5 separate regions of the Homo sapiens genome follow, and regions 2, 3, 4 and 5 are each linked to region 1. The links are contacts of gene promoters, found by promoter capture Hi-C in blood cells and fetal thymus (Javierre and others, 2016). All regions are on one chromosome and are shown on one strand. Each heading gives the region's core, a stretch centred on a gene start or on the middle of the fragment in contact. The rest is flanking DNA. Distances are from core to core; before and after follow the strand shown. Region 1 holds the start of ABCB7 (ATP binding cassette subfamily B member 7). Region 2 holds the start of CHIC1 (cysteine rich hydrophobic domain 1). Region 3 overlaps MAGEE1 (MAGE family member E1). Region 4 has its middle 76 kb from the start of PBDC1. Region 5 has its middle 16 kb from the start of PBDC1.

Region 1 (4,909 bases), core at 1,400-3,899:
CCAAAAGAACTACCATATTCCACAACCCAGGTCTAGGGCATATACTGGGTGAGAAATACTTACAATGAATTCCAGTAATCACATACATGTGGGACTGTGTGTGTGTGTGTGTGCGTGTGTGTGTGTGTATATATATATATAAAATATATATGTGTGTGTGTATATACACATAAAAGTTCATGAAACAATACTTCACTTAAGATGTAAAAAGCACTGCTATTTTCTTTATATTCTACTGAATTTCATCTAAAAAAGTGCTAATCCAACCCACTAACATTATTTCATAACACTGCTCTAAGGTTCCTTTCAGCTCTAAAATATTATGCTATATACTAATGATCGTCCTAAAAGTATGAATTCAGTAATTATTTTGTAATCTTAATCACAAGTCACAAATTTGCAGGTACCTCAGGTTACCTCAGCTTCTACTTTGAAAACTTTGTAATCATTCCTTTCTCACCCTGTTTTAAAAAAAGGATGGCAAGAGTTCCATGCCTTTAAGAAACAGAAAACAAAGGTAACATCTTTCCCTTGTTTTGCACACTGAGGAAATGGTAACTAAAGGAAATGGTAGGATGTAAAGGACAGAGTGGAAGAAGGAAGTTGTGGAGATAGCGTTCATGGAAAGAGAGAAAGCTAAATTTGTATTGCCATTGCCTCCTCTGAGATTCCTAATAACTTCTCCTTTTCCCTCTTCCCCCTCATTCTTCCAGCTTAAGAAATTTTATCTTAAGATATCTAATTTTATCTAAGATAACATTTACAAATTTTATCTTAACTTCATCTGCCTTATTGGAGAACTACAGAACAAAAACCATTCCCAAGAGATCATGTGTTAGAAACTTTCAACCATAAAATACTTTAAAAACCTTAATGAAATCATCTAGATTCGCTTCGTTAGCCTAATCTGCTATTTCCTATCTTGAATGACTCACTACAGTCTAAACTACGTGCAGTTCTAGAAAAGGTCCATGTTCTCTCTGACTTGTGGGCCTTTGCACATGCGATTCCTTCTTTAACTGGCTAACTTCTAATTTTTCAGCTCTTGCCTTAGATATCAGTTACTTAAGGCAATCTTCACTACCTTACAATTAGACTTAATACCCCTCACATATACTGTCCCATACCTTGTACCTTTCCCATTATTACACAGCTCCACTATATTTTAATTGCCGATTAATTTACATATTTCCCACTAGATTTTAAGCTCTTTAAAGACAGGACTTATATTTTGTTTGCTCCTGTAGAGGTGTTCAATAATTACTGAATGAATTATAAATGTCATTCCATCAGCCTTCCACATGCTTAGTGTCATTCCCTATTCTCCCTGTTCAGAACATTCTCCCCAGTTCTATCACCAGCATGAAATACTCTTTATAACCTGGTCCTTAATTATCACTATTTCCTCTGGATGCCTATAGCCTTTATTGTACATACTATTCATTTGCTAATTAACCCACCACTGTGTTTTTCAGTTATTTTTGTAATGCATAGATCCAATCTCCTTAACTAAACTGTACAATCCTTGAAGGCATAACTGTATGTCTCTCTTAGTACCCTATCATCTAGCACAGGGCTATGTACAAGGTAGACGTTAAATATTTGTAGATGAAGAATCAAAATTTAAGAGGTTGTTTCTCATACAAAACTGACAATATTTTAAAGTGATAGTGATAAATACGTGGTGGCAATTAAACCTCTTGTCAATACACAGAAAATAAAAAGATATACTTTAGTACAGTTAAGTACAAATAATTTTTTAAAAAACCGTTCCTGAGTGAGAGGTAATAATGGACTCAAATTTTAGGAGGCACTACAACCATAGCTACATTCATAAGTTAAGGATAAGTAGCCTATGGCTTCCAAAATGACCTGTGCACAGAGAACATCACTGTATTTTTCAGATCTAGGACAGTCATATTTATACAAGAATTTAGGGCGGTCTATGTTTTGGAAAGATAGTTACGGTTTTGGCCTATCAAGAAGCACGCCTGTCAGCAAGGGAGTTAACTGGCGCCACCTGTTTATAGATAGCTTGCTGTCATTACAGTGCTCTCCGAATTGCTAATTCCAACTGAGTAAAATCTGAACCACAGATAAACTGTCCCAAATTCCATTACTAATTGGGGAAAATAATCCAGTCTTCCTCGTCTTTAGAAAGGCAAGCAGGCTGGGAATGGTGTCTACCCCAACTCTTAATATGAGAGAAAAACTATGACTCCGAGAGCCTCCAGCGCTCCAGGTGTCCTCTGCCCAGAACCTCCTGCCCCGTTTCCCTTTGCTGAACTCAAAGGTTTTCTTCTTCGCCCTTTCCTCAAATTACTGACGTTAATTTCCTTCACTTACTGCTGCTCCCAGTTAGCCATGACTTTCTTCTTGGTGCTCTCTCTGCCCCGAGGTCAGGAGGGCAACCTTTTCCCTACAGGTCCCCTTGCCCTTCACCCTATTCTTCCATGTCAGTGGCATCTCACCTGGTAGGCTCGAGCGGTTCCCAAGGCGCCGAGTTGATGTGGCCTCCACTGCGGACCTGAGCCGCTAACAGAGACTAAAGGCCGGATCAGAATCGCGGAGTGCCGGCGCTTTTCGAAAGCAGCCGCCGCGGCCGCCCAGCGCCAAGAATGCATCGCGAGCAGCGCCATCTTGAGCGAGGAAAGAGGAACCGAGAGAAGAGGATTATGGGACACTGGCGGACTGAATTCGGCTACCTTAATTGTCTCTCCTCTTCTTGTTTTCCCAGGGCCCCAGACCGGAAATGGATTCTGTTTGAAGATTCGGATGCATTCGCACAGCCTCTTTTATTTGTTTTTCCTTAGGGCCGAGCTTTGATTGTTTTCCTTACACAACCGGGAATATTGGAGTAACACTGTATTTTTCTCTTTTCCTGGAGTTGCCAGATGAAATACAGGATGCCTACCTAGTTAAGTTTCAATTTTACATAAACAACGAATCATCTCTTCGTGCGTGTGTCCCAAATATTGTATCTGCTAAATCTGTCAACCCCATCTTGTCTCTCATAATACTCTCTTACCTCCTCCAACTCAATGTCACGCTCCCCTCTCTCCATTTTCCCTATGCATATTCTTATCTTCACTCCCTTCTGAATTAAGGAAAGATTAAACTACAGACGTTAATTTCCCCTGGGAGGAGGCTTCAGCTGTAAGATTTACTGCTTTTCTGTCCTGTAAGGACTTTAACTTTGCTGATTGTTCTCTGTTGCGCAAACCTTGGGGCAGTTTTCCTTTGGTCTGTTGCTCGTGGGACAGTCTCACACACACACACACACACACACACACAGAGAGACTACAGACATCTTTACTAATTTTGTCACTCTTTCTAGCTCTTCGCTTTGGTTTTTGCAGCGTCCCTAATTCTTGAAAAATCGCTTAGGTTGGCTGAAGGGTGGTAAAGTGAAATGTATGGAGAGAAGACCATGTTTAAAGACAGGCTTATATTCTTTTGTCACCACTATTATCAAACAAAATGTCAAAATATGTTTACAGTTATCTAGGAAACTGCATTTCCAGTTGTAAATGTTACCTGAAACCCCGGAGACAATAATGCAGTTGCAATTTTATATTCACTGCTGCATTCTCCAACTTTTCACACAAAAGAGACAAATAATTATGGACTTCTTATGAAGAGGTACTTTGGACTAGTAAGTCTGATAAAGAAAAACAGAAATCTGTAGCCCATGCAGTTAGCTTTTTTGTTCTGGGATTCATTCAAGGGGATGCTTGAGCTAGTTATTTAAAGAAAAATAGAATTCAAGTTGAAGAGGTTGACTGGAATTACACGTAAAGAAGATGACATGTTAAAAGCAAGAAGGCATAAGAAAATATTTTCAGGTTCAGGAGTCTATGGAGTTTGGGAAAGTAGTAGGAGGTTAACCTGAGTGAACAGAGACCTGATGGTAAAGGGCCTTCTATTTCATTCTAAGAAGTTAATACTTTATCCTATAACCAGTGAAGAGTTTTAATCAGGAGAGTAACATGATCAGATTTATATGTCCATTAAGCTACTCTGGCTTAAGTGAGAAGGTTGGATTGGACGGAGTTCATATTGAAGTCATGAAGTTAATGCAATAGTTCAGTCATAAAATAAAGGCCTCAACCTAGCAGTAGCAGTGGCAGTAGATCGATTGCAGGGCAATTAGGAGATGGAATTGGCAAGACTTAGTGACTAATTGGATGTTTCTAGCTTATTATTGTATTGTTGACAGTAGATCAGTAATGGCTTCATATTAATGACTATATTGTCATCAACAAATATTTATTCAGCATCTATTCTGTGTTAGACAGCTACAGTATACATTAGAGAAACTCTAGACTCTACTAATGATTTCTCTTAGGGCTGAATATTGCCACTGAATCTTACCACCCAGTTGTAAAGTCTTTGAATGGAGCCAAATTATTTTTTTCCAAAAGTAGTGCTCATTGTAAGCCAACTGTTTTGATCAAAAAGTGTGAATAACATTGAAATACCCAAGTTGTTACTCTATGATGAGCTAAAGTGAGGCAAATATTTATTTGCCAAATAAGCCGAAGAAAATTTCCAGGGCACCCAGAAATAGAACGTGAGGCATAATAAGAGTTGCACACTGCTGGGGAAGAGCAGCAACAAAAAGGCCAACTCAGCCTGTAATAACTTGACACATAACTGTCTGACATAAATTAAAGAGACAGAGGTATACACAATAAAAGCTGCTATAAATAGCTGCTACAACCACAGATCACATGATAGCACTTTATGTATGCAATAATTAAATGTGTATAGTATTTTGTAACTTACAATCCGCTTTGTCATACCTTATTTCATTTAGTCCTCACATCGACCATGGAAGATAGGTATTATTTATTAATATGCCCATATTTATGAGGAAACTGAGGCTAAGAAAAGTTGTGACTAGGTC
Region 2 (4,909 bases), core at 1,583-4,082, 1.6 Mb before region 1:
TGATGTAAATGTTTTAGTTTGTAGTGACAGTTGCACAACTGTGACTAAAATCAATAAATTGAATGCTTTAATAAATAAATAAAATAAAGCTGTCTTTAAAAGGTTACAATTCTTTTCAGCTGTTTAAGGTTGAAACCCTCTCAGATGGTTAATGATCTCATGCCTCAGGTCTCTATTAATTATATGGGAGAAATACCCCCATACCCCACTTAGCAAGTTAGGCATAATGTTACATGACCTGCTTTCTTCTCCATCTACTCCTCGATTTACTATTCTTAATACTAAGGTATCATTTAGAAACCATGGTGTTACTCGTGTTTACTGACAATAGATAAACAAAATGTATTTTTCTTCAGCTTGCTTAATTCCAAATTCTCCTATATTTAAGCAAAACAAATTACCTTTGGAATCACATATGACTTTTAATCACAACATATAAGCCAGAAAACAGATGGACAGATTTGACTACACTTGTGTGTTTAGCCAAGTATAGCACTTCCCTGAATGTTTGGTCTTTTTGACATCTGACTAAACATGAGGGGCCTCTTTCTATTTTAACAGATTTTCCCCATCCCTTTCCTTCCTTCTCATTCTTCAAGGCCATAATTTCTCCACTTTTACCATAGTTCCAATATCTTACTTGCACTCATTACAAAGTCCACCCCCTACTCCTTTCCCTTCCTGTACTTCAAATAGCCTTTCCTAGCCTAATCTTGAGTGTGAGGAGAAACTACCATTTAAGCAGTAGTCAGTGAAATACTTTTCCCTCTAGACACAGACTTAGTGGACCTTCGTGGATAAGATATTTGGAAAAATTTTAAATGTCATTTACAGTTTTTTTTTTTTGCCTCTTGAAAGAGAAGAACTGTTGCAAAGTATTAATTTTGATCTTAACTCTGACACATTTATTAACACCCCAAAAAAGCAAAGATATATATGTCTTGCCAGAAGGCTATACAAAATATTTTAAGGTTCTATCTTCTATAATTCCTGGCTAGTAGATACAGTTATCTAAACTACAAAAAGTTATAATTTGTTGCTTATTGATAATGTTATGACTTTTTTTTTTTTTTTTTTGAGACGGAGTCTCGCTCTGTCGCCCAGGCGGGACTGCGGACTGCAGTGGCGCAATCTCGGCTCACTGCAAGCTCCGCTTCCCGGGTTCACGCCATTCTCCTGCCTCAGCCTCCCGAGTAGCTGGGACTACAGGCGCCCGCCACCGCGCCCGGCTAATTTTTTTTGTATTTTTAGTAGAGACGGGGTTTCACCTTGTTAGCCAGGATGGTCTCGATCTCCGACTTATTTTTAAAGTTCCCTAAATAAACCAACTTTTGAATAAAAATGGGCTTTTCATTTTAATAACACATACTCCTTGATGATAATGGTTTGATTCATTTCTCTTACAGAACTAATTTCTTCCTACTTCACACACATTAAATGCTTTGTTTATACTGATAATGTCGTGCTCATCCTAAATTAAAGTTTGACTATGTCTGTTTCCCCAGAGACACACCATCTGATTGGGATGCAGCCGTAGAGTAGCAGAAAGAGCAGTGAAGCTGGTATTAGAATGCCTGGATTACAGTGTTTGTTCTGTTACTTAGCAGCTGTGTGACTTTACTGTCTTAATGATATGGATTTTTGTGCTGCTGCCAAGTATGAAACAGTTTGGCACACTATTTAGATACGCAAAATATGTGATCCCCACAACATTTTAGTGAGTGTAAAGAAGATAGGATAGACCATTTAAAATGGAAAATTTTGAACAAAAGGTCACCATAGACTTGAATAAATTACTTAAACTTCTGAGACCCACTTTTGTCATGTAATAAAATAGATATAATGATACTTACCTCTCAGGATTAAGGGTTAACTGAAATATTGTATGTGAGGGTCTAGCTCAGTGTCTGGAAAATGGATGATGTTAATTAAGGTTTCCTTAGGTTGGAATGCTCCTTTCACCCCCTCCATCCGCCCCCTCCCCCAAAAAACACTCCAAAATTCAAACATGCATATTCTGATTCATCTTTTAAGGAAGAGCCCAAGAGGCACCATTCTACAAAATCTTTCCAAACAACTTCAGGCAGTACAGCCCTTTGGTTAAGAGTACTGGGCTTCTGGAATCAGAAGAGACCACCAAATTTAAAACCAGGTCTCCCATTTAGTAGCTCCCTGACACTGGACAAATTACTTATTTTCTCTGCACCTAGATTTCCCATCTGTAATATAAAATCATCATGATACATACCTCATAGGGTTGCAGAGGATTAAATGAGATATACATACAGAGCACTTAGCACAGTCCCTGAGTTAATAAGTCCTCCGTTAAGTATTACATAGGAGAAGTAGTAAAAAGTTTCCTCTTAAGTAAAATGCTAATAAAAGTGCTTACCCTGCCTCCCAAGATTGTGGCAAAGTTATGACGCAAGGCTTTTAAACTGTAATGCTGAACAAACGTAAGGGATTGGTATATACCTTGAGATATTTTGGACAAAGTTCTAACCTTACTTTTATACAATATGCTTTCTCTCACCCGCCTGCAGTTGGGTTAATAATGCCCAGCATTAATTAATAAGCAATAAAATCAGAAGATACCCCGAATACAAGTAGCTGACGCTCAGAGAGCAGTATTAAGGCGAGCACCCGCAGACCGGACCTGGATAACTCCTTGGAGTTCACCTCTAGCGGCCCCCTCCCCTTGGAGCTGCGCAAGCGTACACTGACTTTGCTCCTCTCTAGTGCCCCCGCCTCCAGCAGCCGCCCCCCCACCCCCCCGTCTGCCCAACACGCAGGCGCGTCTCCTCAAATCCTGTCCCTACACCCCTCCTCTTTCTCTTCATTTCGTTCCCCCTCCTCTTGCAGCACCTCGGCAGGTTCAAACTCTTCTCCGGGAGCGTGGCGGCGATCGCGAGGTCACGTGATGAGCATCCTGCTGCCCAACATGGCGGAGTTCGACACCATCTCGGAACTGGAGGAGGAGGAGGAAGAAGAAGCGGCAACGTCGTCGTCGTCGCCGTCGTCGTCGTCGTCGGTATCTGGGCCCGACGATGACGAGGAGGATGAGGAGGAAGAGGAGGAAGAGGAGGAGGAGGAAGAAGAGGAGGAGGAGGAAGAGGAGGAGGAAGCGCCGCCCCCGCCTCGGGTAGTGAGCGAGGAGCATCTGCGGAGATATGCTCCCGACCCTGTATTAGTGCGGGGTGCCGGCCACATCACTGTGTAAGCGAGAGGGGGTCTTGGGACTTGAAATGCCTGAGATTTGGCAACAGAGGAATGAGAAGTGATCGAGGGGCCTGTGGAGTGGGGGAGGGTTGACTGATTGACTGAGGCGTACACTTAGGAAAGGACACCTGGTCTAAATGGGGAAACCATGGGTGGATACGTGTGAAGGAAGTGAGGAGAATGTAAATATGATGCACCAATGCCAGGTAAAGAGTGAGTATAGGAGAGGGAAGTTAGGGGTTTGGGAGCCAGAGCGATTGGAGTAGGGGTGAGTCTCCTTTCTTGTATGTATGCTGGCAAGTGAACAGTCTCTAAACTGCAGGATGTACCAGAGGGTTTTTTGCTGACAAGATTGATACTTTGTGGGAAACAGCAATTGCTGTGACATGTGACAAGAACTAGGCTTGCATTCTTCAAAACAGAAACATGATATATTTTGTGAATAATAATAGAATGTTCATTCACCCACGTATTCATCCATCCATTCTTCCTATCGAATCCTTCCTTATATATCACTCGATTAGAGGTTCAGGATGAGAGGCAGCTATGGAAAGTAGAAAAAGAAATGGATTGAGTCAGGGCTCTTAGACGCTGGTCCCGGTTTTGCTTCTTACTGGCCCTGTGACCTTGGTCAGGTTGCTTTTTCTCATTTCTGCGCCTTGATTTCTTCATCTCTAAAATGAAGGGTTTGGAGTAGATGGTTTCTAAAGCTTTTCAGTTCTGAGATAATTTACCTCCAAGGGATTTTGTATGCCCAAGTATGAAATATACAGGCATTAAATATATATGGAAATTAATACTTTGGGAGCTGAGCATAATTTCTTTAAAATTTATCCAGGGTGGTTTTTTAAAAAATTGAAATCTTGAGGAAAAATTGAATATTTCAGAAAATAAAATGGGGAGGGACTTCATAACAGCTACAAGGCAAAAATGTTGATGATTCTCCGGGATTTAAAGAGTGCTTCCTCATTTTTATTTGCTTGGACCATAACTATTTGGAAGTTTGAGTACTGTGTCATGTTCATCCTCTGAACTATGCTATCTTTTACTGCATTTTCAAAATAGGTTGCCTTTTGTTGTTATGTCATGCTGCCTCTGGTTTTGATAATGGCTCACCTAGTCCCTTTGACTTTCAATTGAGTTCATGTTACATTAAATCATATATATGCTACCTCCCTTATATTAGCTTCAATTTTTAACATGTTGAGTTTTTTTTTTTTTTTTTTTTTTTGAGACAGAGTCTCACTCTTTTGCCCAGGCTGGAGTGCAGTGGCGCAATCTTGGCTCACTGCAGCCTCTGCCTCCCAGGTTCAAGCAATTCTCCTGCCTCAGCCTCCTGAGTAGCTGGGACTACAGGCGTGATATGTTGAGTATTTTAATTGTAATATACTTTCGTAATCTTTGCATCAAATATATTAACAAATATTTTGAAATTGGGGAAGTGTTGGGGGAGGGTTTTAGAGCTGCTTTTTGATTAGGAAATTTTAAGACAATTTTTCTTGGTCCAAGAATTTTGCAGATAGCCTACAATATTCAGATGCCAACTTATTGCACGGTTTTACTTCCATTCCTTTTGTCACTAGGGAGACAATTTATTACTCAAACTAATTATGATGGCTGGTACCAAAGGTTACTTTTATGCAGATTATGTTACATGACCGTTTAGTCCATAATTTTATACTCCAACATT
Region 3 (4,909 bases), core at 879-3,378, 1.3 Mb after region 1:
GGCTTTTCCTTGAAAGCTTGAAAAAAATTCGCCAGTAAAATAATCTAGCTTAAAGTGATAAACTAACAAACAAATATAACAACAACTGAAAAGGCACTCTAAATTGTGGCTGGCTTCCCTTTCTGTCTGCTATTGTATGAAGAATACTGATGTTTACCTGTATTTGCTTTGCTGTACTAAAATGTAATGAAAAATAAAAGATTAATAAATGAAACATAATGCTAATACACTGACTTATTCAACTGCTTTCATACAGTGAGCACAGTGGTGTGCCCTAGTTATAGAAGTATAAAAGTTTACAAGATATAGTACCTGCCCAAGAATTCAGAGGCTGGATAGGGTACAGGGGGAGGTCATTTAAATCACCAATTTATTATGGTGTACTATGTGCTACAATAGAAAAATAGAGAGTGCTATGGTAGTTAAAAAGAGGCACAACTGACCAATTCCTGGGGTGTTCAGGGTGGTCCTTAAGGAAGCTGTTGGGTATGTGGGGTGGGGACAAGATGGGGTCTTTTTTTTTTTTTTTTTTTTTGAGACAGAGTCTCGCTCTGTTGCCCAGGCTAGAGTGCAGTGGCATGATCTCGGCTCACTGCAACCTCTGCCTCCTGGGTTCAAGAAATTCTCCTGCCTCAGCCTCCAGAGTAGCTGGGACTACAGGCAAGTGCCATCACACCCAGCTAATTTTTGTATTTTTAGTAGAGACGGGGTTTCACTATTTTGGCCAGGCTGGTCTCAAACTCCTGACCTCGTGATCTGTCCACCTCAGCCTCCCAAAGTGCTGAGATTACAGGCGTGAGCCACCGTGCCCAGCCAAGATGGGGTCCCTAATACAATCATGAATTAAACTGATTCAAGGCTGGATTTCAGTCTTTATGTGTGCTGGTAGGAAAAAAAGTCAAAGATGTAAGGCCAGAGAGCAGGATATATTGTGTCATCAATGGTTTCAATAAGATACATGAGCCAGCTTTCTCTAAGTTATGCTGTGGGTTTTTAAAAAATACCCAAATCTCAGAGGCTTACAACAACAAAATTTTGGGCTCATTTTACATCCCTTTCATGGGCTGTCTGTGATTCTGTTTATATTGTCTTCCTTCAGGTAACCAGGCTAAAGGAGTAAATCATATATGGGACACCTGTTCTTGTGGCAGAAGTAAAAGAGCCATAGTGGAACCATGTGATAGTTTTCAAAGCCTATGCTCATATATGGCATATTGTAGTCATAATCCATTGGCAAAAGCAAGTCACATGGGCAAGCTTGATGTCAATGAGCTGGGAAGTGTACTCCTTCTACAGGGAAGAACATATAGGAATGGGCCCAGTAGAGAGGAAGAACATATATTTTTGAATAAAAAATTAGTCTACCATATAAGAATTTGGCTTTAGTTGTGAGTGAGATGGAAAACTATTTAAGGCTTTTGATCTGAGCGATGGCAGGAAACCACTTAGTTTTGACAGGATTCTTTTGGCTCTCATATTGAAAAACTAAAGGGGGTGGGGAGGGCAGAAACTCTAATTTTAGCATAGTAATTTCTTCTTAATGTACCTATGAAAAGAGGTGTTATTTTCTGAACAAAATCAAATTTAAAGAAATTGAAGTCAGAAAGCCTGTTATCTTTTAAAAAACACCTTGGAAATCAAACTCCGTGGTATCAAGGTTAAAAGGCATTAGAACATAGTAGTAAGAGCATGTAGTCTAGAGTCAAAGTGCCTGGGTACAAACCCTGGCTCTCTCTGATACTAGAGATGAGAACTCAGGCAAGTTACTTAACTCCTTTGTGCCTCCATTTTTTCATCTGTAAAATGGGCATAATAATTTCACCTACGCCATAATGTTGGGGATTAAATGTGTTAACATGTAAAACACAAGAGCACTTGACATGTAGTTAGCAATATATAAGTGATATTGTTGCATGTTGATTTTTTCCAGGAATGAGACTGTGAGTGATTTCCTTGCAGAAATTTTACTGGGGAGTTGTTTTGGGTTCAACAGGTGTGGGGAGCAAGAGAAGCAGAATTGTGTAGAAAGAGAAGTCGAGCAGTGATTCAGTCACAGCAAATAAATTAACTGATTCCACAGGGAGCTCTGGAGTTGGTGTGGTCCTGCAGAGTTGTCCCAAATTAGGAAAAAGAGGCCAAAGTTTTATCCCACCATACTCACCAGTCGTTGGATGCAAACTGCCTCCTGGTAAGGGGCTATGACTTTTTGAGAGTCAGTTCTTTTCAGCTGAGAGTAATCCCTGAGAAAGGTACTCAGCTGTAAACACAGCAGCTGTCATCACCCTCAAGAGCTGGAGGAATGAGTAATGTGATCCTGAAGAGTAGGAGCATCTGGGTGATACATCACAATCTCCACTACAGTTGTTGCTGTTTTTATTGGTTTCCTTCCCCTCCCCTCCTACTCTTTAATAATAATTCTTCCTCTTCTTCTTCTTTCTCTTCTTCATCATCCTCATCTCTTTCCCCTTTCCTCTTCCCACCTTCTCCTCCTTGTTATTATCACTATTACTATTGTTATAATCTAAAAGAATTACATATCTTCTTATATCATTACTAATATTTTTTTTAAAAAATCTGTAAAGATTACATATATTCTTATTGTTCTGCCTGGGATATAACACCCACATCACTGAATCGTTTTACTCTTCGCACAACCTTCCTGAGAGAGAGGCTCTGATAATAGAGCTTCATTTACTTCTTAAGTTCTGTATTAGTTCTCTATTCTTTTCATGTTTCTTAGTAGACTTGTGTGTTATCCAATTGTTGCCAGAAGATGTTACCTAAGCAAGTTTCTTGGTTGTTTGTCATTTAAATATTGCGAACTATTTTTCTCTCAGATAAACTTGACCAACATGCACAAACATTCAGAATATCCCACTAAAGACAACCAAGGAAGAAAATACGTTTTTTTTCATGCATTTCTCTCAAAAGTAACCATTTTGGTCTCAGAAAATGTCTGATTAAATGTCTTTGTTCAAATGCACCTGTTAGATTAGGATGCAAGCTTTTGTTTCAAGATTCCATGTGTTCAGTGGAGGGTCGTGCTCTCATGATTACATGAATGTGTACTATTTTTTAAAAAAGGATCTTGTCATTCTGCGTTAAGGTAATGATCATTGACTTGTGTCAAACCCTGCAAAGAGCTACAGTCAATGTGACTGACTAATTGCTGTACTCATCTGTGGTGGAATGGAAAAGCTTCTAAACTTCACAGGAGAAGTCTCTTCTCTTTATGTAGAGAGAAATCATGGGTGGGACTCTGGTGATTGTCTTCACATTGTTATTCAATCTTGCCAATGAATGGTTCTGTAAGATTTCCCCTTTTGCCTAAGAAGTTATGTAGCCACTTAATCTAATCTAAGTAACTGCTAAAGTTCTCTAGGTTATCCACATATCTCAGATGATGACTCATCAAAATTGATTAAAAACAATTATTTCCCCAAAATTGAATTTGAGATACAGCCTTAAAAATTGGTAGATTGAACAGAAAGGATGATTATGGAAATTCACAACTGTGATCCTTTGTTGGTAGAGTGGATAGCGGAAAAGCAGTCATTTTGAGATGAATGTGGGGTTTGATTGTTTTGTTTTGTTTTGTTTTTTGATGAGTGAGATAACTTTGCTCTGTCTTCCTGGATTAGACTATTTCAAGTAGTAACAGTGATAGAAATCAGGTAGGTAAATGGAAGTCATCATATTTTGATGAAAATATGTGAGGCAGTAAAATACCCAGTTCTCAGATAATCATATAAAGTGTAAAAACTACTTTAAAAGGCTAACAAGAAGAAAAACACAGTAGCTAAAGTATGAAAGGAAGGAAATTAGAAAATGCCAAGGTTTTTTTTCAGTGCATTTGCTAAAATTGAAGAAGAGTTATTGTTTCTACTGCTTTCTTTCTTGGAAATGTTATTATTAACATTCAATGTTTAACTGAAATTATTTTCTAAGTGTGCTCAGATTTAAAAGATTACTTTTGCTGGCAGAAATCAGAAGAATATCCTTTCCAGCAGAAGCCAAACTCCTTGAAAGAATGTTTATTTTTGATATCTCCTATTTCTCTTCTACTATTTATTTCTGAACTCAACACAATTAGGTTTTTCTTACACCAATCAACTGCAGCTGCTTCTCTCAATATGTACAGTGACCTATATAAAAATTGATAAATCCACTGATCTTTTCTCAGACATTATCTTCATCAGTGGATTTTGACATAGTTAATTTATTTTTTCCTCTTCAAAACATTTTGAACATGTGAGATACTCTTCTGGTTTTCCTCCTGCCTTTCTTCCTACTGCTTTCTCACCTCCTTTACAGGTTCCTCGTCTCCCAGAATTCTAAGAATGCTCCGGGATAATAAGTCCTTGAACTTATTCACTTTTTTTTATGTTTATATGCTCTCCTTAATCTCACCCATTTATTTCTTATATTTAAAAAATATTCTATATGCTGGAGAGCCCAGAATTTGTAACTCAAGCCTCAGGGTATGTACCCCTATTGTGAATTCCTCTCACATTCAATTATTTTCTCAGGTTTTCCACTTGGATGTCCAGTATGCACTAAATTCTAACATGCCCAAATCTGAGCTCCTGGTATTTATTTACAAACCTGTTCCTTCTACAGATTTTCTCACCTTAATCAATGGCCAGTTCATTCTTACAATTGCTCAGCATAAAAGGTTGGGCACGTACTTGACTGTTTTTTTTTTTTTTTCATTTTCTGGATATTAGAAAAAATTTAATATGTCAACAAATTCTGATAGCTCTGCTCCCAAAATAAGTTCAGAAACTAATATCTTGTCAACTCCAGCATTACTACTATGATTGTATCTCACCTATACTATTGCAGTGGGGTTAGAATTTGTCCTTCTACTTCTGACCTAGTATATTTTCTTAGCACAGTAGCCAGAGGA
Region 4 (4,909 bases), core at 1,002-3,501, 1.1 Mb after region 1:
GGGGAGAGTAACTGTGAATAATGGCTTCTCAGCCTTTTCTCAGAAGTGTTCCTTATTGTTTCACTGGTCAATTCAAAGTTAAACTCCCTAGTTATATCTGTTTTCCCCTTACTCTCTTCCAGAATCTTGTCTCAATATATGAGAAGGCTTATTATTATTTAAGGTTCTCAACATTTTTATGCATTTATTTAAATTGACAGATTAATTTGTATGTATTTATTATGTGCAGCATGACATTTAAGTATATACATATACTGTAAAATGGTTAAATCCAGGCAATCGACAAATGCATCACCTCACATAGTCAAAATTTTTGTGGTGAGATCCCTTAACATTCAATTCTTGTGTGTTTTTTAAAAATACAATATATCATCACCACTATAGTGACCACGTTGCACAGTAGATCTCTTGAACTTATTTCTTTTATGTAACTATAGCTACGCATTCTTTGGCCACCATCTCTCAAATTCCCACTCCCTGCTAAATACCCCTGCCTTTGGTAACCACCATTCTACTCTCAACTTTTTAAGATTCCACATATGAATAAGATCATGTAGTATTTTTCTTTCTGTATTTGGCTTATTTGATTTAAGATAATGCCCTCCAGTTCATCCACATTGTCGCAAATAACAGGATTGCCATCGTCTTTATGGATGCATAGTATTCTATTGTGTAGTTTTTAAATTTGTGTTTCAGATTGTTCACTGTTGGACTATAGAAATGCTACTGATTTTTGTAAATTAGTTTTGTATCCTCTAACTTAACTGAAATTATCAGTCCTAATAGTTTTTTGTTGAGTCTTTAGGTTTTTTCAAATATAAGATTATATCTTTTGCAAATAAGGAAAATATGACTCCTTTCCTTTCAATTTGGATACCTTTCATTTCATTCTCTTGTCTGATTTTGCAGCTTGAACTTTCAATACTATTTTGAATAACAGTGGTGCAAGTGGGCATCCTTGTGTTCCAGATCTTAGAGGAAAGGCTTTCAGTTTTTCCCCATTCAGGATAACACTAACTGTGGGTCTGTCATATATGCCTTTTATTACGTTGAAGTATATTCCTTCTATACCAAGTTTTTTTAGGGTTTTTATTATAAAAGGGCATTTGATTTTATCAAATGGTTTTTCAGCATCAATTAAAATGATCATATGGTTTTATCCTTCATTTGATATGATGTATTACATTGATTTGCATATGTTGAACCGTTCTGACATCCTGAGAATAAATCCCTCTTCCCAGTGATAATCTAACTAACGTATTTTGAATTCCACTTGCTCATATTTTGTTGAAGATTTTTGCATCAATATTCATCAGTGATATTGGCCTGTAATTTCCTTTATTCCATGTGTCTTTGGTTTTTGTATCAGGATAACATTGGCTTATAGAATGAGTTTGGAAGTATTCTCTCCTCTATTTCTTGGAATGGTTTGAGTACAATTGGTATTAGTTCTTTAAATGTTTGGTAGAATTCAGCAGTTAAGTCATTTGGTCCTGGGCTTCTCTTTACTCAAAAACTTATTATTATGGCTTCGATCTTGTTACTTGTTGTTGGTCTTTTCAGGTTTTGGATTTCTTTCTTGTTCAATCTAGGTATGTTGTATGTGTCTAGAAATTTGTCAATTTCTTCTAGGTTTTCAAATTTATTGGCTTATAGTAGCCACTAATGATTGGTTCATAGTAGCCACTAGTGATTTTTGAATTTCTGCAGTATCTGCTGTAATGTCTCCTTTTTCATGTCTGATTTTATTTACTTGGATCTTCTTTCTTTTTTTCTTTGTTAATCTGGCTAAAGATTTTTCAATTTTGTTTAGCTTTTTAAAAAAACAAACTTTTTGTTTCATTGATGTTTTGTATTTTTTCATTTAATTTTATTTATTTCTGCTCTGATATTTATTATTTCTTTTCTTCTACTAACTTCATATTTTGTTTGCTCTTGCTTTTCTAGTTCTTTAAGATGTATCACTAAATTGCTACTTTGAAGTTTTTCTTTTTTTGATGTTGCCACTTATAGCTATAAATTTTCATCTTAATACAACTTTTGCTGTATCCCATAGATTTTGGTATGTTTTATTTCCATTATCATTTCCTTTAATAATTTTTTCATTTTTTTTTCTAAATTCCCTCATTGATGCCCTGGTAATTCAGGAGCATATTGTTTAATTTTTATGTATTTTCATAGTTTTCAAAGTTGCTCTTCTTATTAATTTCTAGTTTTATTCCGTTGTGGTCAGAGAATATGCTTAATATTATTTCACTTTTTTAAAATGTTTTAAGACTTGTTTTATAACCTAACATATGGTCTATCCTTGAGAATGATTAATGTGTTGAGGCAAAGAATGTGTATTTTGTAGCCATTGCATGAAATATCTGTAAATCATTAGATCCATTTGTTCTATAGTTCAAATGAAGTCTGATATTTCTTTGTACATTTTTTTGTCTGAAAGATCTGTCCAGTGCTGAAAGTGAGGCATTGAAGTCTCTAACTATTATTGTATTATTGTATTGGACTCTATATTTCTCTTTAGCTCTAATTATATCTTGCTCGATTTTCACATATCTGGGTGCTTCAGTGTTGGGTGTGTTACCAGCGATGGGTCTGCAACTGGTGGCATTTCCACAGCAATTCCAGCCCTTGTCTTCTTAGAAAAAAGAGTTCAACTGAGAGATGGAGGCAAATTTTAAAGCAGAGGCAGAGTTTTGTTAAAAGAAGCAAAGTACATTTGGAAGATGGCCAAGAGAGGAACTTGAGAGATCAAGTGCCATGCTCAGTCTGTGGCTTGGGATTTTTATATCCTGTATTGGTTCCAGGTTTTCTTTTCTATTCCCTTGATTTATCCCTCCCTTGGGCTGGGATATTTCTTTGATTCATGAACAGTGACCTGTCATCACTTTCGAGGGGCCACATGTGCAGTGTGTTTACTGAGGTTGTGCCCATGCTCACTTGGGGCATTTCTTTTACTGATCGAGTGCCCCCAGAGGAAGGCCATATACCAGTCAAACTTGGTCATTTTGCCCCCTACTGTGCATATTTAAGACCTTATCAAGGAATTGTGGTTTGCTGGCTCCAGATATCTCCTATCCTTTGGGAACTTCTCTACCGCTTAGTGCCAGTCGTGGCCACTTATCATTTCAGAGAAACAGTTTTATGATTGCCTAACCATCATCTAATGAGTGCCTACATTTCTAGGGCCCTCACTTATTATCCTAGAAGAAGAAGTTGTATAATCACCCGGTTATCAGCCAGTGAGTGCCTGCCATTTTGGCAGGGCCCTCTCCCACTCTGCTCATATCTGTATAACTACCTACTCTAACATTCTGCCTTCAAAAGTCTGAGACCCAATTCTTTGGGATAATGGGTGAAGGTCAGTCTTCTGTAACTGCTTCTTGCTGACAGAGGGGCAGTGTTTGGCCCATGGGTCTCAGACTCTTGCTAGTTGTCAGGGAAGGGTGGCTCCATAGGCCAGCAACAGTGGTGCCCAACCAGGTTCAATGAACACAGGTAGGGTTTTGCCTCTGTCATATTCCGCTGATGGGCAATCCAGTGGTCCCCTATAGAAGGCTGACTCGTGAGTATTGAGAGGACAGTATCCTTTACTTATCCTTCACTGATGATCTTCTGGAGCTTGACAGCTTGAATGCAAGAGGAGAAAAATTGGGTTATTAGATTGAGAAGATATGGACCAAAAAGGAGCAAAAGTAATAGAATGAAAAGATGGCCTAAAAAGGGAAAAGTCCAGAAAAACCATTTCAGGTTCCTTCTTAATTTCTCATAAATTGTTCTCATAAATGGGAGGCTTGATTTTTGAGTTGTCTGATGCTGTCTTGCATTTTTCCTAATTGATTTACCCAGAAACAACATTTTTCATCTAAGGTTAAACAAATTCTTCCCTGTGCTACCATTAACATATATGGCTCTTGGCATTTCTAGAGGACCATGGCTGTGAAAGAGTCAATTTTTTCTTGCATGGCTGCTAAGGTTTTAGCCATGGCATCAATACTGTTGGCTATTTCTGTTGAGAGTTGGCTATAGGTTTAGGAGGCATGTGTGACTCCAGCAATTTCTGCTCCTGTACTGGCTCTGATGTCGAGTCCCACAAGAAGTGGAATTAATTGGATAGCCCTCCTCAACCTGGGCAAGATGGAATGCCCATGGATTGGTATTGGAAGGGAGTGATTTCCAGGAGCTATGAAGATGTCCAGGGATACATAGCATATAGTATAAGTTCCAGTTCATTCAGTGGGGAGGCATTGGTGAACTGAATGACCAACAATATGAAAGACTTCTCAGGTTTTAAGACAAATAGAGATGTCAAAACCAAATAAGGGGGTAAAAGTAGGTATAGAAAATCCTGAGGTTGCTGACTTGCTCAGATTGATGGTGGATATGGTCATGACCGCCAAGATTTGGGTGCATGAGGTGTGGCTCTGATTAGCTCCCTTGTTTCTATTCTCCCAAAAAAGAGAATTTTGAGTTTGTTCCAATAGAACCCTTTCTTCTGTAGCACTGAGATTGGCAATTTGCATACATGGGTGTAATCAGTAGGATGGAACCAGAAATTTTGAGTACTGCATGTGTTTGGGCATTCTCGACAAAACTGAGTGGATTTATCTTGCAGTGTCCCTTGAGGAAAGGTAATACTTGGAGGTTTGGGAAATACTGGTTGATGTTGGACCTGGCTGTGGGGGTATGTTTGGTAGATCTGTTGGCTAGAGTCTATGGTGATAGTGACATTATAGACTGTACTGGGAAGAGCACTTACATCCATTCCATTTTCCTTTTTGATTATGACACAAATAGGGGCTGTCCCCACTAAGGTGATATTAGTAAAGAGGGGCTCAAAAATGGGAGACTTCTCACAGGTATCAGGGAAATCTTGCTTTACTTTTGTAAGAAGCCTATTTGAAGA
Region 5 (4,909 bases), core at 1,628-4,127, 1.0 Mb after region 1:
TACACCCAAAGGATTATAAATCATTCTACTATAAAGACACATGCACACGTTTGTTTATTGCGGCACTGTTCACAATAGCAAAGACTTGGAACCAACCCAAATGCCCATCAATGATAGACTGGATAAAGAAAATGTGGCACATACATGCTATGGAATACTATGCAGCCATAAAAAAGAATGGGTTCATGTCCTTTGCAGGAACATGGATGAAGCTGGAAGCCATCATTCTCAGCAAACTAACACAGGAACAGAAAACCAAACACCGCATGTTCTCACTCATAAGTGGGAGTTGAACAATGAGAACACATGGACACAGCGAGTGGAATATCATGCACCAGGGCCTGTCGGGGGTGGGGGACAAGGGGAGGGAGAGCATTAGGACAAATACCTAATGCATGCGGGGCTTAACACCTAGACAAGGGGTTGATGGGTGCAGCAAACCACCATGGCACATGTATACCATATCACAAACCTGCATGTTCTGCACAGGTATCCCAGAACTTAATGTAAAATAAAATAAAATAAAGAAAGAAAAAATAAAAGGAAAGAAAAATCCTGCCTATTGGGCTCATTTATAGAACCACTTGAAAACCGCCCTTGTCAAGTAAAAATTTTCCAACAAGTAACCCCTTAGAAATGCAGCCTTCTTGTATACACATTATAGGATTTCATCAGTGTACAGGTGCACCAGGTGGCCTTGGGGTAAAGATAGATTAAAGATCATAAATAATTATCTGCATTTCAGTGTTAAGGCCCAGAAAGCTTCCCTTGCTTCCTTTTACCTCAGTGAATGCCCTCAGGCAATGCTTCTGGAGCCAGCTTACTCAATCTTTTCTCACCAGTAATGCCAGCCCTTCATTCCAGATTTTGTTGTTATATTTAACCCACCATATGCACTTGAAATCCTTACTTGAGAAAACTTGGAAAGTAGGGGAAGGTTTTCACAATAAATGAAAAAGTTGCCATAATTCTACAACCAATGTATAATGACTCTTAGTTCTTTAGTTTACTTCCCAATTGACTCTTTTCTATGGGAGTAAAATAATGTTGTATGCATGCTACTATGATGATATTAAATGGTGTCACTTGCTACATTTCAGGTATTGTTGGGTATGTGTGGTTACTATCATAAATGACTTTCCTGTTTTCTTTCGCCCACCCATCTTTCACAGAAAAAGATACTTAATATCAAAGTTAATCAGGTAATAAAAATTTTAATCATGGTGAGATACTATTTCTTTTCTATCAGATAACTCTTTGATTTGGGGACTAAAAAGGGTACTAGAAAATGACATCCTTAGGAAGTAATATCCGGGAAGCTCAGCTTGGCCAACTACGTAACACTGTGGCTATTTGAGGAAAGTGGTGATTTTGAAGAGAGGACTACATTGCCTTCTCAGGTGTGTCTCCTTTGCCCAGCTCCCATGGGATCAAATATGAATCCAGTGAGGGCTGCAAGTTATATTTATGAGTTCAGAAACAGTGCAAGTCACTTGGCACAGCCTAAATAACTCCATCTGAAAGCAGTTGGTCAGTGCAACTGGTGGGCCGGTGGTCAAAACAAAGGTTACTCTTGTGCCACCAGCACCAAGGAGCCATTCTTAGAGATGTCTGGTTATTCCTTGGTCCAGAGCCCTGAATTATCCTGTAGATGTGTCTGAATCAGAACAGAGTAAATACCAAGTTAGCAGGAAAAGCTCATCACTACTCTCATTCCTATCTCTCCTCTGGCTGCTCACCTAGTGAGCTCTGCAGCAATATGCTTAGTAGCCCCAGCCAGGGTGTGATGGCCACCAATGTTATCACCAGGCTTAGACAGAGGAAGGCTTGATGTTATATTCTGACATACAGTGCCATATCCTTACCTGAGAATGGAATGGAATGACAAAGGAGATCTGAATTATGGGTGTGAGAAAAGTTTCAGACAATTCTGAGTGAAAAATTAGTCCAATTCCTAAATGACCAAATTGTTCTGATTAGTTAGAAAAAAAGCACAACGGAGGCAGAAACTTTTCTACATTTCTAGCTGAGAAAATTTAAAGATGGGGCTTGAATTACCAAGTGTTAATAGTATTTAAAAATGTTTTATGTTTCTATGAAAAATTGCTCTGTGACTATAAGAAAGTAAAACAAGAAAGAAGGAAGAAAGGAAGCATTGAGACAGAGTAAACAAAGCCAATGAAGGGAAGGAGAAAACAGGGACGATATATAGAGAAAAAGCATGGGCTCAGTTCATTTTCCTCTTTAAAATCCAGAGCTACCTGCCTCTAAAGTTCAAAGTCTTGTCTATAACATCCTGGTGTTGTGCTTTCTGAGTGGGGCTTTCAGAACTTCCCTTGGGGAAAGCCTATGATGCACTGCAAAGAGATGGGCATGTCTGAGGTCAGTGCACATCCAGTGTGATAGCCCCAACTCACCACAGTATCAAGGAGTTGCAGCTGGACCCACAAGTACTAGGGCTAACATATGCCTATTTCTCCCCCATGCTCAACCTAGGTATCTCCCTTAGCAGATGTGGAGCAAAATAACCTTTGCAGAAAATAATCTTAGAGCTTAAACCTGAGCTATGTCTGGAAAGTCCATGGCATTCTGAATAATCTATAATTTACTGAGCATTTGCTGTATTCTAGTCCCTGTGCTAAGAGCTCATACATTCATGTCTTATATAATTCCATCATTGAAATAAGCACATAAGTCAAATGTGTCTGTAATCTTCACTTTCAAAGTGAAGAAGCCAAGACTCTGCATTTAAGAGACTTGCCTAAGTTCACATAGATAATAAAACTCAGTTACCTCCGAAATAAAAGATGACATAACTTTAACCACAAACCATCATGGCCCTGAAACTATGAGAGTAAGGTTGGTAACTTCCAAGGAGGAGGTGAATTTAAATCTATCCTGATTCCAGATCATTTGTACTGCCCCTGGTATAGTTGGAGAGGTGTCACTCTTTTTCTTTTTCTTTTCTCTCTCTCTCTCTCTTTTTTTTTTTTTTTTTTTTTTTGAGATTGGGTCTCACTCTGTCACCCAGGCTGAAGTGCAGTGGCATGATCTTGGTTCACTGCAACCTCCACCTCCCAGGCTCAGGTGATCCTCCCGCCTCAGCCTCCCACGTAGCTGGAACCACCACGCCCAGCTAATTTTTTGTATTGTTAGTAGAGACGGAGTTTTGCCCTGTTGCCCAGGCTGGTCTCGAACTCCTGAGCTCAAGCGATCCACCCATCCTGGCCTCCCAAACTGCTGGGATTACAGGCATGAACCACCACACCCGACCCACTCTTTTTCTTAAATGCATTCATGCACATGCATATGTACATATGTGCACACACATACTCATATACTAACACAGACTGGTATGGGACAGTCTGAGTCTTATGTGATCCATACTCAGCAGTTAACAATAATTATTTCTGTACCCTTACCTATGGAAGACATTCAATCAAAAGTGGCAATTGCTAAGGTTTTCATGGGAACTTAATGTGTCAGGAGATTTTAACCTTAACCTTAAGATGTATTCACTTCAGGAGTCAAGCGCCTTCCAGCATGGTCACAGGATAGTTTTCATGTCTTTGTCTTCCAGTAATGCTTTGAATGTATTGTCATTAATCCATTCATGCAACAAAAAGTCATGGCACTCCTCTAATATGTGTCAGCCACTGTGCTATTCCTTGGAATCACTATCATTATAATTACTACTGTCTTTTTTTTTTTTTTGGTAATGGTCAGTTTTAGTATAACAATATATCTCACTAGGATGAGTGCATTATAAGAGGGTACTGTGCATTTTTCATCACTACATGTCTAGGTCTTAGACACATATGGACATAGCTCTGAGTAGGCGATCAACAAATATGGGGGATTAAATGACAAATTTCATGGGGTATATAGCGTATGTAAGAAATAAGGAACACTGGAGCCCTGGCTGGCAAGATGGCCAAATAAGAACACCTCCAGTCTGCAGCTCCCAGCGAGATCAATGCAGAAGGTGGGTGATTTTTACATTTCCCACTAAGGTACCCAGTTCATCTCACTGGGACTGGTTGAACAGTGGGTGCAGCCCAAGGAGGGTGAGCCAAAGCAGAGTGGGGTGTTGCCTCACCAGGGAAGCGCAAGGGGTCCGGGAGCTCCCTCTCCTAGCCAAGGGAAGTCATTAGGGACTGTACTTTGCACTTAGGCCCAGATACTGTGCTTTTCCCACAGTCTTGGCAACCCACAGACCAGGAGATTCACTCTGGTGCCCACACCACCAAGGCCCTGGGTTTCCAGCACAAAACTGGGCGGCCATTTGGGCAGACACTGAGCTAGCCGCAGAAGTTTTTCATACCCCAGTGGCACCTGGAACGCCAGCAAGACAGAACCGTTCACTCCCCTGGAAAGGGGGCTGAAGCCAGGGATCCAAGTGGTCTGGCTCGGTGGGTCCTACCCCCACGGAACCCAGCAAGCTAAGATCCACTGGCTTGAAATTCTCGCTGCTACCACAGCAGTCTGAGCTCGACCTGGGATGCTCCAGCTTGGTGGGGGGAAGGGCGTCTGCCATTGCTGACGCCTGAGTAGATGGTTTCACCCTCACAGTGTAAACAAAGCCGCCTAGAAATTCCATCTGGGCAGAGCCCACCACACCTCACTCAGCAAGGCCACTGCAGCCAGACTGCCTCTCCAGATTCCCTCCTCTCTGGGCAGGGCATCTCTGAAAACAAGGCAGCAGCCCCATTCAGGGACTTATAGATAAAACACCCACCTCCCTGAGACAGAGCACCTGGGGGAAGGGGCGGTTGGGGGCACAGCTTCAGCAGACTTAAACGTCCCTACCTGGCAGCTCTGAAGAGAGCAGCGGATTTCCCAGCACAGTGTTCGAGCTCTGATAAGGGACAGACTACCTCCTCAAGTGGGTCCCTGACCCCCATGTATC

The links. The method cuts DNA at HindIII sites, captures the fragments that hold promoters and counts their contacts. A CHiCAGO score of 5 or more calls a contact.
Region 2: a contact is called between the fragment with the promoter of CHIC1 here and the fragment with the promoter of ABCB7 in region 1, in 4 of 17 cell types (total B cells, naive B cells, non-activated CD4 T cells and 1 more). The highest score is 6.9, in total B cells.
Region 3: a fragment that was not itself captured here is called in contact with the fragment with the promoter of ABCB7 in region 1 in 1 of 17 cell types (total B cells); the score reaches 5.2 in total B cells.
Region 4: a fragment that was not itself captured here is called in contact with the fragment with the promoter of ABCB7 in region 1 in 2 of 17 cell types (M2 macrophages and total CD8 T cells); the score reaches 5.5 in M2 macrophages.
Region 5: a fragment that was not itself captured here is called in contact with the fragment with the promoter of ABCB7 in region 1 in 2 of 17 cell types (total CD4 T cells and naive CD8 T cells); the score reaches 5.5 in total CD4 T cells.

The regions. Positions count from the first base shown.
Region 1 is chrX:75,153,634-75,158,542 of GRCh38, forward strand. ABCB7 (ATP binding cassette subfamily B member 7) reads right to left here and starts at 2,650. Exons shown (of 16, transcript NM_001271696.3): 1 at 2,472-2,650. The coding sequence starts at 2,639. It also overlaps a transcript of UPRT not described here. RefSeq lists an enhancer at 2,331-2,760. The HindIII fragment of the contact is 6,846 bases long and covers 1-4,909 here.
Region 2 is chrX:73,560,365-73,565,273 of GRCh38, forward strand. It overlaps CHIC1 (cysteine rich hydrophobic domain 1), which reads left to right and starts at 2,833. Exons shown (of 6, transcript NM_001039840.4): 1 at 2,833-3,216. The coding sequence starts at 2,921. It also overlaps the pseudogene MAP2K4P1. RefSeq lists a silencer at 2,753-2,812. The HindIII fragment of the contact is 6,151 bases long and covers 1-3,927 here.
Region 3 is chrX:76,431,129-76,436,037 of GRCh38, forward strand. MAGEE1 (MAGE family member E1) reads left to right here. Exons shown (of 1, transcript NM_020932.3): 1 at 1-214. Among named protein-coding and RNA genes, the nearest start is that of MAGEE1, 5.9 kb to the left of the region's middle. The HindIII fragment of the contact is 1,747 bases long and covers 1,256-3,002 here.
Region 4 is chrX:76,246,627-76,251,535 of GRCh38, forward strand. It overlaps the pseudogene LOC100533728. Among named protein-coding and RNA genes, the nearest start is that of PBDC1, 76 kb to the left of the region's middle. The HindIII fragment of the contact is 6,792 bases long and covers 1-4,909 here.
Region 5 is chrX:76,155,106-76,160,014 of GRCh38, forward strand. No RefSeq gene overlaps it. Among named protein-coding and RNA genes, the nearest start is that of PBDC1, 16 kb to the right of the region's middle. The HindIII fragment of the contact is 4,234 bases long and covers 761-4,909 here.